3 separate regions of the Homo sapiens genome follow, and regions 1 and 2 are each linked to region 3. The links are contacts of gene promoters, found by promoter capture Hi-C in human tissues and cell types (Jung and others, 2019). All regions are on one chromosome and are shown on one strand. Each heading gives the region's core, a stretch centred on a gene start or on the middle of the fragment in contact. The rest is flanking DNA. Distances are from core to core; before and after follow the strand shown.

The links. The method cuts DNA at HindIII sites, captures the fragments that hold promoters and counts their contacts. A contact is called where the count stands out against the background at its distance.
Region 1: a fragment that was not itself captured here is called in contact with the fragment with the promoter of OPRD1 in region 3 in 1 of the 25 tissues and cell types used here (neural progenitor cells).
Region 2: a fragment that was not itself captured here is called in contact with the fragment with the promoter of OPRD1 in region 3 in 2 of the 25 tissues and cell types used here (adrenal gland and aorta).

Annotation. Positions count from the first base shown.
Region 1 is chr1:28,752,837-28,756,081 of GRCh38, reverse strand. All of the region lies in intron 4 of YTHDF2 (YTH N6-methyladenosine RNA binding protein F2), which reads right to left. Among named protein-coding and RNA genes, the nearest start is that of YTHDF2, 18 kb to the right of the region's middle. RefSeq lists an enhancer at 1,072-1,571. The HindIII fragment of the contact is 8,261 bases long and covers 1-3,245 here.
Region 2 is chr1:28,847,096-28,850,127 of GRCh38, reverse strand. The region is part of intron 1 of OPRD1 (opioid receptor delta 1); the gene reads right to left. Among named protein-coding and RNA genes, the nearest start is that of OPRD1, 36 kb to the right of the region's middle. The HindIII fragment of the contact is 8,802 bases long and covers 1-3,032 here.
Region 3 is chr1:28,809,966-28,813,426 of GRCh38, reverse strand. It overlaps OPRD1 (opioid receptor delta 1), which reads right to left and starts at 1,257. Exons shown (of 3, transcript NM_000911.4): 1 at 817-1,257. The coding sequence starts at 1,043. The HindIII fragment of the contact is 21,122 bases long and covers 1-3,461 here.

The sequences.
Region 1 (3,245 bases), core at 512-3,011, 58 kb after region 3:
CTTTTGAATGAAGTACGGAGATCAAAACTTTCAAGTCTCTAATAGCAAAGCAACTTTTTATTCAACAGACATCACTGGCATCTGCAGTCATCTGTTACCTCTCTGCAGCCTCTGAGTTAAGTGTACTCTACCATACTGCTTGAAGTTCCATACAGGCTGTGTATCCCCTATCTGAAATTCTTGGGGTAAGAAATGTTTTGGATTTCAGATTTTTTGAATATTTGTAGATACATACTGGTTGAGCAACCCTAATCTGAAAATCCAAAATAGGAAATGCTCCAATGAACATTTTCTTCAGTGTCATGTGTGCACTCAGTTTCAGACTTTGGGGCATTTCAGATTTTCAAATTAGGAATACTCAACCTGAATAGCCCCTTCCTTGTTCTCTTTCTGAAACTCAAACTATTCTCTCTCAATCTCTTTCACTTGCTCCCTCTTTATTCTTCAAATTTTGTTATTTCTGGGGAACTTTTTCCATAGTCCTTTTCTCTCACTCGTGTTGGCTCTAGAACCACGCTGCAGAATTAGAACACCAGCTTTACTTTCGTATCTCATGTGCCTTTGCAAAGTTATTTACTCTTTTCTGTGTTTTAATGTTTTCATCAGTAAAACTGAGCTACTTATACCTACCTCACAAGGATACAAGAATTAAATGAACATACATTTAAATATATATTCAAGACAACTGTATGCTAGACACTGTACAGAGCATTCAATAACTGTTAGCCATTCTTATTACAAGAATCTTTGAAAAGTCAAACTCTTCCATGCCTTTACCTATCCTGAGGGTTGAAAATTCAAATTCCTGTCAACAATCTGAGCTCCAGATTCCCAGCTGCCTACTATCACCTGGCTGCTGCTACTATCACAGGCACCTGAAACTATTTCCAAAAGCCAATACAACCCCAAATCCTAACCCTAAACTGCTGCTCCTCTCATCATCTTTAATTTTTGAAAAACTAGTCAACAAATATGTCTACCACATTCTTCATATCCAGTTTCCCGTTCCCACTGTCCTGGTTCAGGCCCTCATCATCTTTTTTTCCCCAGAATACTGTAAAAGCATCTCGTTTAGTCTCTGAGCCATCTCCCACCCCTTTTTTTTTTTTTTTTTTTTTGAGCTGTCACCCAGGCTGGAATGCAGTGTTGCGATCTCGGCTCACTGTAACCTCTGCCTCCCAGGTTCAAGTGATTCTCATCCCTCAGCTCCCTGAGTAGCTGGGACTATAGGACTATAGGCACACACCACCACTCTTGGCTAATTTTTTTGTTTGTTTGAGACGAAGTTTTGCTCTCATTGCCCAGGCTGGAGTGCAGTGGAGCAATCTCGGCTCACTGCAACTGCCGCCTTCTGGTTTCAAGTGATTCTCCTGCCCCAGCCCCCTGAATACAGGCACCCACCACCACGCCCAGCTAATTTTTTAGTAGAGATGGGGTTTCACCATGTTGCCAGGCTGGTCTTGAACTCCTGACCTTGCGAACTACCCACCTCAGCCTCCCAAAGTGCTGGGATTACAGGCATGAGCCACCGCGCCCGGCCAATTTTTTTTTTGAGACACAGTCTCGCTCTTTCGCCCAGGCTGGAGTGCAGTAGCGCTATCTCAGCTCACTGCAAACTCCGCCTCCAGTGTTCACACCATTCTCCTGCCTCAGCCTCCTGAGTAGCTGGGACTACAGGCGCCCGTCACCACGCCCGGCTAATTTTTTTGTATTTTTAGTAGAGACAGTGTTTCGCCATGTTGGCCAGGCTGGTATCAAACTCATGGCCTCAAATGACCTGCCAACCTTGGCCTCCCAAAGTGCTGGAATTAGAGGCGTGAGCCAACTCACCCAGCCTCATAGATGTTTTGATAAGTTGCTTTCCTAAGCTTCCATTTGTTGATCTATAAATACAGGATACTGCCTCCCAGGTTGGTATGGGGATTAAAGTAAGGCTATGAAAGTACCTAGCATGGTGCTTAACAAGGTCAATGCTCAGTAAGTGTTTCATCCTTCCCATCCTCCAAACTGTTATTCCCTAATTAACTACCCTCCCTTACAACCAAACTAAAACACAGGTAAAGAATAAAATCCTAGGCCGAGCGCAGTGGCTCACACCTGTGATCCCAGCACTTTGGGAGGCCAAGGCAGGCAGATCACCTGAGGTCAGGAGTTTGAGACCAGCCTAGCCAACATGATGAAACCCTGTCACCACTAAAAATACAAAAATTAGCTGGGCGTGGTGACAGGCACCTGTAATCCCAGCTACTCGGGAGGCTGAGGCAGGAGAATCGCTTGAACCTGGGAGGGGGAGGCTGCAGCGAGCCAAGATCGCGCCATTGCACTCCAGCCTGGGGGACAAAGCGAGATTTTTGTCTCAGAAAAAAAAAAAAAAAAAGAATAAAATCCTGAAACTCTTCATATACTTGCCCAACCAATCTCTCCAGCGTTATCACTTACCATTCTAGACCACATTAAACTTCTCATTCTGAAAACATACCATAAGCATTCTCAAGACTATGTTTTTAACATGCTCTTACTAGAATGCCATTTTTTGGAAGACAGGGTCTCACTGTGCCCAGACTGGAGTACAGTGGTACCATCATGACTCACTGCAGACTTGACGTCCCGGGCTCAAGCAATCCTCCTGTCTCAGCCTCCTGAGCAACTAGGACTACAGGTGTGCCTCATCACACCTGGCTGATTTTTTTTTTTTTTTTTTTTTTTTTTTTTTTTTTTTTTTTGGAGAGGCAGGATTTCATTATGTTGCCTAGGCTGGTCTCAAACTCCTGGGTTCAAGTGATTCTCTTGCTGCAGCCTCCCCAAAGTGCGAGGATTACGGGCATGAGCCACTGCACCTAGCCATTTCTCTACTTTTCTATCTGGCAAACTTCATAGATCATGGAGTAGTCCATGAGCTTCGGGGTTAGAGACTCAGTGGCTCTCCAGGTGTAAGTTCCAATATACAAACATGAAACATGTTTTGAGCAACTTCTTTGCTAAACTGGGTAATAGTTTTTCAAATATTAGAATATTTCCTCAAAAAAATTTTTTTTTCTAGGGACAGTCTCCTGCTGTCACCCAGGCTGGGGTGCAGTGGCATGATCACAGCTCATTGCAGCTTTCATTTCCTGGACTCAAGCAATCCTCCTGCCTCAGCCTCCTGAGTAGCTATACTTTAGTTATGCGCCACCAAGTCTGGTTAATTTTTTTTAAATTTTTTGTAGAGACAAGGTCTCGCTATGCTGCCCAGGCTGGTCTCAAAC
Region 2 (3,032 bases), core at 34-2,533, 37 kb before region 3:
TGGGCAGATCACGAGGTCAGAAGATTGAGACCATCCTGACTAACACAGTGAAACCCTGTCTCCACTACAAATACAAAAAAATTAGCCAGACGTAGTGGCGGGCACCTGTAGTCCCAGATACTCTGGAGGCTGAGGCAGGAGAATGGCGTGAACCTGGGAGGCGGAGCTTGCAGTGAGCCGAGATCGCGCCACTGCACTCCAGCCTGGGCGACAGAGCGAGACTCCGTCTCAAAAAAAAAAAAAAAAAAAAAAGTTTGACTCTCATGTTTTATTTTTCCAGTGCCCTTTCTTCTTCTCTTGTTATTCCTTTTTCATATAGCACTTATAGTATCTTATTTCAGGGACATGATACCTTCTCTTAACTCTCCGAGGATGCTAAGAAGCCTTGTTTAGTATTTTCTTCTGCTCTCTGCATCTTTTACTTGCTTCAAACATTTTTGTTCCTTCATCTGCTTTAGCCTTCCTCTCTTATCCTGGAGAATTCCTTCAAGTATCTGGTGATATATAATATAATTAAACGCTGATTTTTAAATGAAGCACTAAATAACTGGCAGCTCCGTGCGTGTGCACGTGTGCGTGGGCACGTGTGTGTGCCCCTGTGTGTGCGTGTGTGTGTGTGCATGTGTGTGTGTGTATGTGTATCAGTGTGAGGGCTCTGTCAACTGGTGGGCTTCACTGTAGGGGAACTGAGTGATGATCTGGCTTTTACACTGAGGCACATGTAAATATCAATTTCCGTAGGTCTCTTCTCTGGCCTTCAGGCCTTCAGAAAATAATCTCCCCATCTCTCACCCGGGTTGCATACCTCTGGCTGCCAGAATTCTGTTGGCAGAGCTGGAGAAAGGGCCCGGGAGTCCCCCCATCTCCCCATTAAAAAAAAAATTAAAATAGAGATGAGGGTCTCACTATGTTGCTCAGACTGGTCTCCAACTCCTGGGCTCAAGTGATCCTCCCACCTCAGCCTCCCAAAGTGCTGGGATTACAGGCATGAGCCACCGTGCCTGGCCTCCTGCTCCCCATTTACCTTTGGTATCTTGTCCTGACCCTTTCTGTGTCTGCTGGCCCTGAGTCCAGACTTCCTCCATGTTAACTTCTCCAGGAAAAGAAAAAACCTTGCCTTCTTGCAGAGTGGAGGGTAGCCATCTGGTTGTGCAGGATACAAAGATGGGGGTGCCTAACAGTCCCAGTACTCCCTCTAGACAATCATCCTCTTGCCCCTGTTTTCTGTCCCACACCTCACCCCTGCTGTCATTCCTCTTCCAGTTGTTTCTCGTGGTCCAAATATGTATTGACATCTCTTAGAGAAGGTAAACTGAGACACAAGAGGCGAGGTGATTTATCCAAGGTCATATGACCAGTAAGTGGCAGAGCTGGTATTGAACTCAGTCTAAGTGCCAACATCTGGTAACCACTCAGTACTTGTTATCTTCCTTCCTTCCCCACCTCTCACAGTGAAAAAGAATGTGAACTTACTATAAACTGGGGTTTGCTCACTCATCTAACAGGTATTAAGTGGACACTTGAACTGTGCCAGGCACTGAATAAGTGATCTAGGAGTAATGGCGACAGTCTGGCCTCTTGAAATCTGTGACCTTAGGGAGGGGGCAGACATTGAACAAACTGCTGCATTAATTAATGAACAGTTACCTGCTATTACCAAGATGCCATGAAGGATAAGAACGGAGTATATTGATGGACACTGCCTAGTGGGGGTGACAGGCTGGGGAGTGTGGAGGGACCCTGGCTTAGATTAGAAGGTCAACAATGGCTTCTCTGAGGAGGTGTGCTATGAACTGAATTCAGTTCCCTCAAATTCATATACTGAAGCCCTAACTCCCAACGTGATGGTATTGGGGTTTCTCTTGCTGTCATTTTTTTTTTTTAGACGGAGTCTTGCTCTGTCCAGGCTAGAGTGCAGTGGCACGATCTCGGCTCACTGCAACCTCCGCCTCCCAGGTTCAAGCGATTCTCCTTTCTCAGCCTCCTGAGTAGCTTGGGATTACAGGTACCCGCCATCCCGCCCGGCTAATTTTTGTATTTTTAGTAGGGAACAGGGTTTCACCATCTTGGCCAGATTCGTCTGGAACTCCTGACCTCATGATTCACCTGCCTTGGCCCCCAAAAGTGCTGGGATTACAGGCATGAGCCACCGTGCCTGGCAAATTTTTTTTCCAATAACTGGGTTTTTTTTGTTTTTTGTTTTTGGCTTTATTCTGCAGTTTACATATGAGAGCCCTAAGCCCAACACAACACTTGATTTTCTGGTTTTATTTATTTATTTTTATTTATTTATTTTTGAGGCAGGTTCTCACCCTGTTGCCCATGCTGGAGTGCAGTGGTGCAATCATAGCTCACTGTAGCTTTGGCCTTCTGGGCTCAAGCGATCCTACCTCAGTCTCCCAAGTAGCTGTGTTTACAGGTGCACACCACCACACCTGGCTAATTTTTAAATTATTTGTAGAGACAGGGTTTCACCATGTTGTCCAGGCTGGTCTCAAACTCCTGGGCTCAAGCAATCCACCCACCTCAGTCTCCCAAAGTGCTGGGATTACAGGCCTGAGCCATTGTGCCCAGCCTTTATTATTCTTTCAGTATCCATGTCCACAGAGACTGCTTCTCCCAATAACACATGCCATTTGATCCTCAGCTGGTACATGTACAACGTCAAAGAACCTGGGCCCTTCCATTTAAGTGCACTCATGTCAATTTGGGCTGGACCTCTGCCCTGGTCCTGTCACCTCTGAGGTGTCCTCAGGTCAGAAATGCAAACAGGCTCGGCTGGGCGCGGTAGCTCACGGCTGTAATCCCAGCACTTTGGGAGGCCAAGGCAGGCAGATCACCTGAAGTCAGGAGTTTAAGACCAGCCTGGCCAACATGGCGAAACCCCATCTCTATTAAAAACATAAAAATTAGCTGGGCATGGTGGCGGGCACCTGTAATCCCAGCTACTCAGGAGGCTGAAGTAGGAGAATTGGTTGAACCCGGGAGGCAGAGGTTGCAGTGAGCTGAGATCGCGCCACTGAACTCCAGCC
Region 3 (3,461 bases), core at 8-2,507:
GAGAAAATGGGAGAGGGCATTTGTGAGGAGGGCGTGAGTCTTCTCTGAATCCTATTCAGAATTCCTGACCAGATGGGCACTGGCGAAGGGAACAGAGAACCGGTTGGCGGCCCACAGCTGTCGCCCATGTTATCCAGGAATCACTGGCAAAGGCACACACAGCTGCACAAACACAGGGACGACGGCCACTCCGGATGCTCTGCCGCCCTCGGGGTTTCAAGAGCTTGACAAGAAACAACAGTCACATTGTTACATTCAGACAGAATCACAAACTGACCGTTAGGGACAAGCTCACACCAACAGATGAGCACCAAATATGACTTGGTAAGGGCCCCACGGCGAGGTGCTGACACCCAGCACCCTCCTGTCCGCCCTGCCTGCACGGTGCCCTCACACCGGTCTCCCCAAAGGCCCGCGGCACCTCAGAGCAGCTCTGCCCACCCCATGGGCATGTTTCCGACGTCCAAACATACAGTTGTACTGTCACAACCATCCACTCACAAACTGTGACAGACACACAAACTGACGCCAAACTGTCCCACAAAGAAGCAAGGGGATGCCAACAGATGATCAAATGTAATTTAGTCAACCGCGGCGCACTCCCCCCCCCGCACCACACACACACATACACACGATGACACACATTCCTGTGTTCCCCTCGATGTAAGTGGCCTCGCCTCTCGCTGGGCCCCAGGTGCCCCTGCAGGAAATGCGGAGGCGCGGGGAGTCCAGGGAACGGGCTTGGGGTCTCAAGTTCGTGATCCCCACCCTCACCCCGGGCTCCAGCCCTGCGGCGCCGGCCCGCAGCGGACTCACCGGACGATGCCGAACATGACAAGCACGTTGCCCAGCAGCCCCACGGCGCACACGGCCGAGTAGAGCGCGGTGATGGCGATTGCCAGGGCGAGGGACGAGGCGCTCCGCGCGCCTGGCGGCCCCGACGCATTGGCGCCAGCGCTGGGGCAGGCGCTAGGGTAGGCGTCCGAGGCGTTGGCGAAGAGCGGGGGCTGCAGCTCGGCGCCGGCGGAGGGGGCCGGTTCCATGGCTGCCGGCCGGCTCCGCCGCGTCCCTCTCCACCGTGCGCCCTGGGCGCGGGGATCCGACGCGAGGGGAGCGGCAAGGCAGAGGCCGCGGCCCCGACGCCGCCGGCTGCCGCGCCCCGGCCGCCCCGCTGTCTCTGCGCCTCGTCCGCCTGCCTCGCCGCCCGCACCGGCCCAGCCCCCGGCGTCCGCCCGCTCTCCTCGCCCGGAGCGCTGTGAGCCAGGAGCAGCCGCAGGCTCCTCGGACGCGCCCGCCGCGCGCACCACGTGGCCCGGAGGCGGCCGCCAGTCTGCGCCCGCGACCGGGGGCGGACGCTGCACCACCGGCTCGGAGCTGGGCAGGGGAGGCCTCCCGCCCCCTCCCTAGGGATGCTCCGCCGGCTCGAGTGCGACCCCGTCCCAACCTGGACTCCCCTCCCACCCCCTTGCCACTTTGGTGTCAGAGGGACCTGGGTGTGGATCCCGCCTCCCGCCCCTGCACTAACAGGCGGAGTGACCTTGTGTAAGTCACTTAACCTCCCTCAGCTTCATTCTCTTTGTCTGTGAGATGAGGAAAATCGTACCACCTCCCTCAGAGGGTGGTTGGGGAGATTGAATAAAATGATTCGAACAAAGAGCTTAGAGCAGTGCCCTGCGGACAGTTACATGCTCCGTAAATAACCTATATTATCCGTGCCTTTCTTGCACCCCATTCATTCGCTCAACAAAAATTCTGAGGGTGCCTAATAGAAGAGCCGGGTATTTGGGGGGACCCTCTAGTACACAAAACCAGATGCAGCCTCTGCTTCCTGGGGCTTACAGCCCAGTGCAGGAGAGAGAGCGAGCAACCCTAAAATGACATTAAGATATAGGTACGAATTGAGAAAGTGGCAGGGTCTACAAAACCCAGGGGTCAGGACAGCTTCCCTGGGGAAACGACACTTGAGGTGAGGTGTGAAGTTTGGGGAAGAACTAACTTAAGGAAGTAACAAGGGAAGAGGATTCCGGATAAAGGAAGCAGAGGGACTGAAAGGAAGCCAGGAAGAGGAGAAGGCAGGAAGTGAGGGGGCGATGAGGTGGTGGGCAGGCTCTTGAAGACCACCTTAAGGAGCACTCTGGCTGCAGTGCGAGCAGATAGAAGGGGGGCACTTGGCTAAGTCATCCTTGCCACACCCCTTCCAAGACCTAACCATTCCAGATTAGAGCCATCCTTCTTCTTGGGGTGCCTAGCCTTTCCAGAACATTCTACCAAGCATTACTTTGCTCCAGGCACTGTGATAAGCACTTTATCCATGCACCAACACTTTGGTGTAGCTTCTATTATTATTGTCCCCATGTTACAGATTTAGTGCTCAGCACTAAATTATCCCATATAGTAATTATTTCTATCCGAACTGGTCTCCCTCCTTAAAGGGACCAGGTCTGATTGACCCCTGCATCCAGGAGAGGGCTGGGGTCACAGCAGGTGCTCAAGAAATACTTTTTGGATAATAAAGATCCCAAAGGGAACTGGAGTGGAACAATATTAGGGGTTCTGAGCTCTAGGCTCTGGGGCAATGCTCTTGGATCTGTGTGTGGCTGGACAAGGAGCTCTCCCTCATCTCACCCTCTAGCTTGAATCATCCATATATGTGCAAGGCTCCTACCCTTTCCCAGAAAAAAGCAAAGCCAGAATTCCCAAGCTCACCCTCTTCTCCATTTTCTCCACCCCACTTAGCTGCTGTCCAGCCACTTCTACCAACTACAGCAAGCCCCCCACCCCAGGGCTTTCCCACTCAACCACCTAAGGACTTATCAGAAAGATTTTTGCTGTGGTCACCTGCTGCCAAAACTCTCTCCCTTTCCCAAAGGGCCTGGTACTCAGAAACTTTTCTAGTGCCAGCAGAGAGAAATTGGGATAGGAAGAAGGAGGGCTACTTTATTGGAATTCTGGTCCCCTCCCTAACCCTCCAAGCCAAGTTTTTTCCTACCTCAGGACATTTGTACATGCTATTCCTTCCACTCGGAAGGCTGGGCCAATACCCCAGCCTAAGCGTTATTTACCCCTCAAATTTCAGCTTAAATATCACTTCCTTTGTGAAACCTTCCCTGATCCCCACCCCACCTCCAACTAGCCCAGCTCTCCTTATTATGCAGTAGCATCACGTACTTCTTCTTTACATATTAATAGTTTCCCATGTATTTATTGTGTAATCATTGGATTTTTTGTGCATCACCTTCACACAAAAAAGTATTGTGTAAAACTAACCATTGAATACTATGCTCAGTAACTTAGTTGACAGGATAATTCATACCCCAAACCTCAGCATCACAAAATATACCCAGGTGGCAAATCTGCACATGGATCCCTTGGATCTACAAGAAAAATTGAAAAAGGCTGGGCACGGTGGCACACACTTGTAATCCGAACATTTTGAGAGGCTGAGGCAGACAGATCACTTG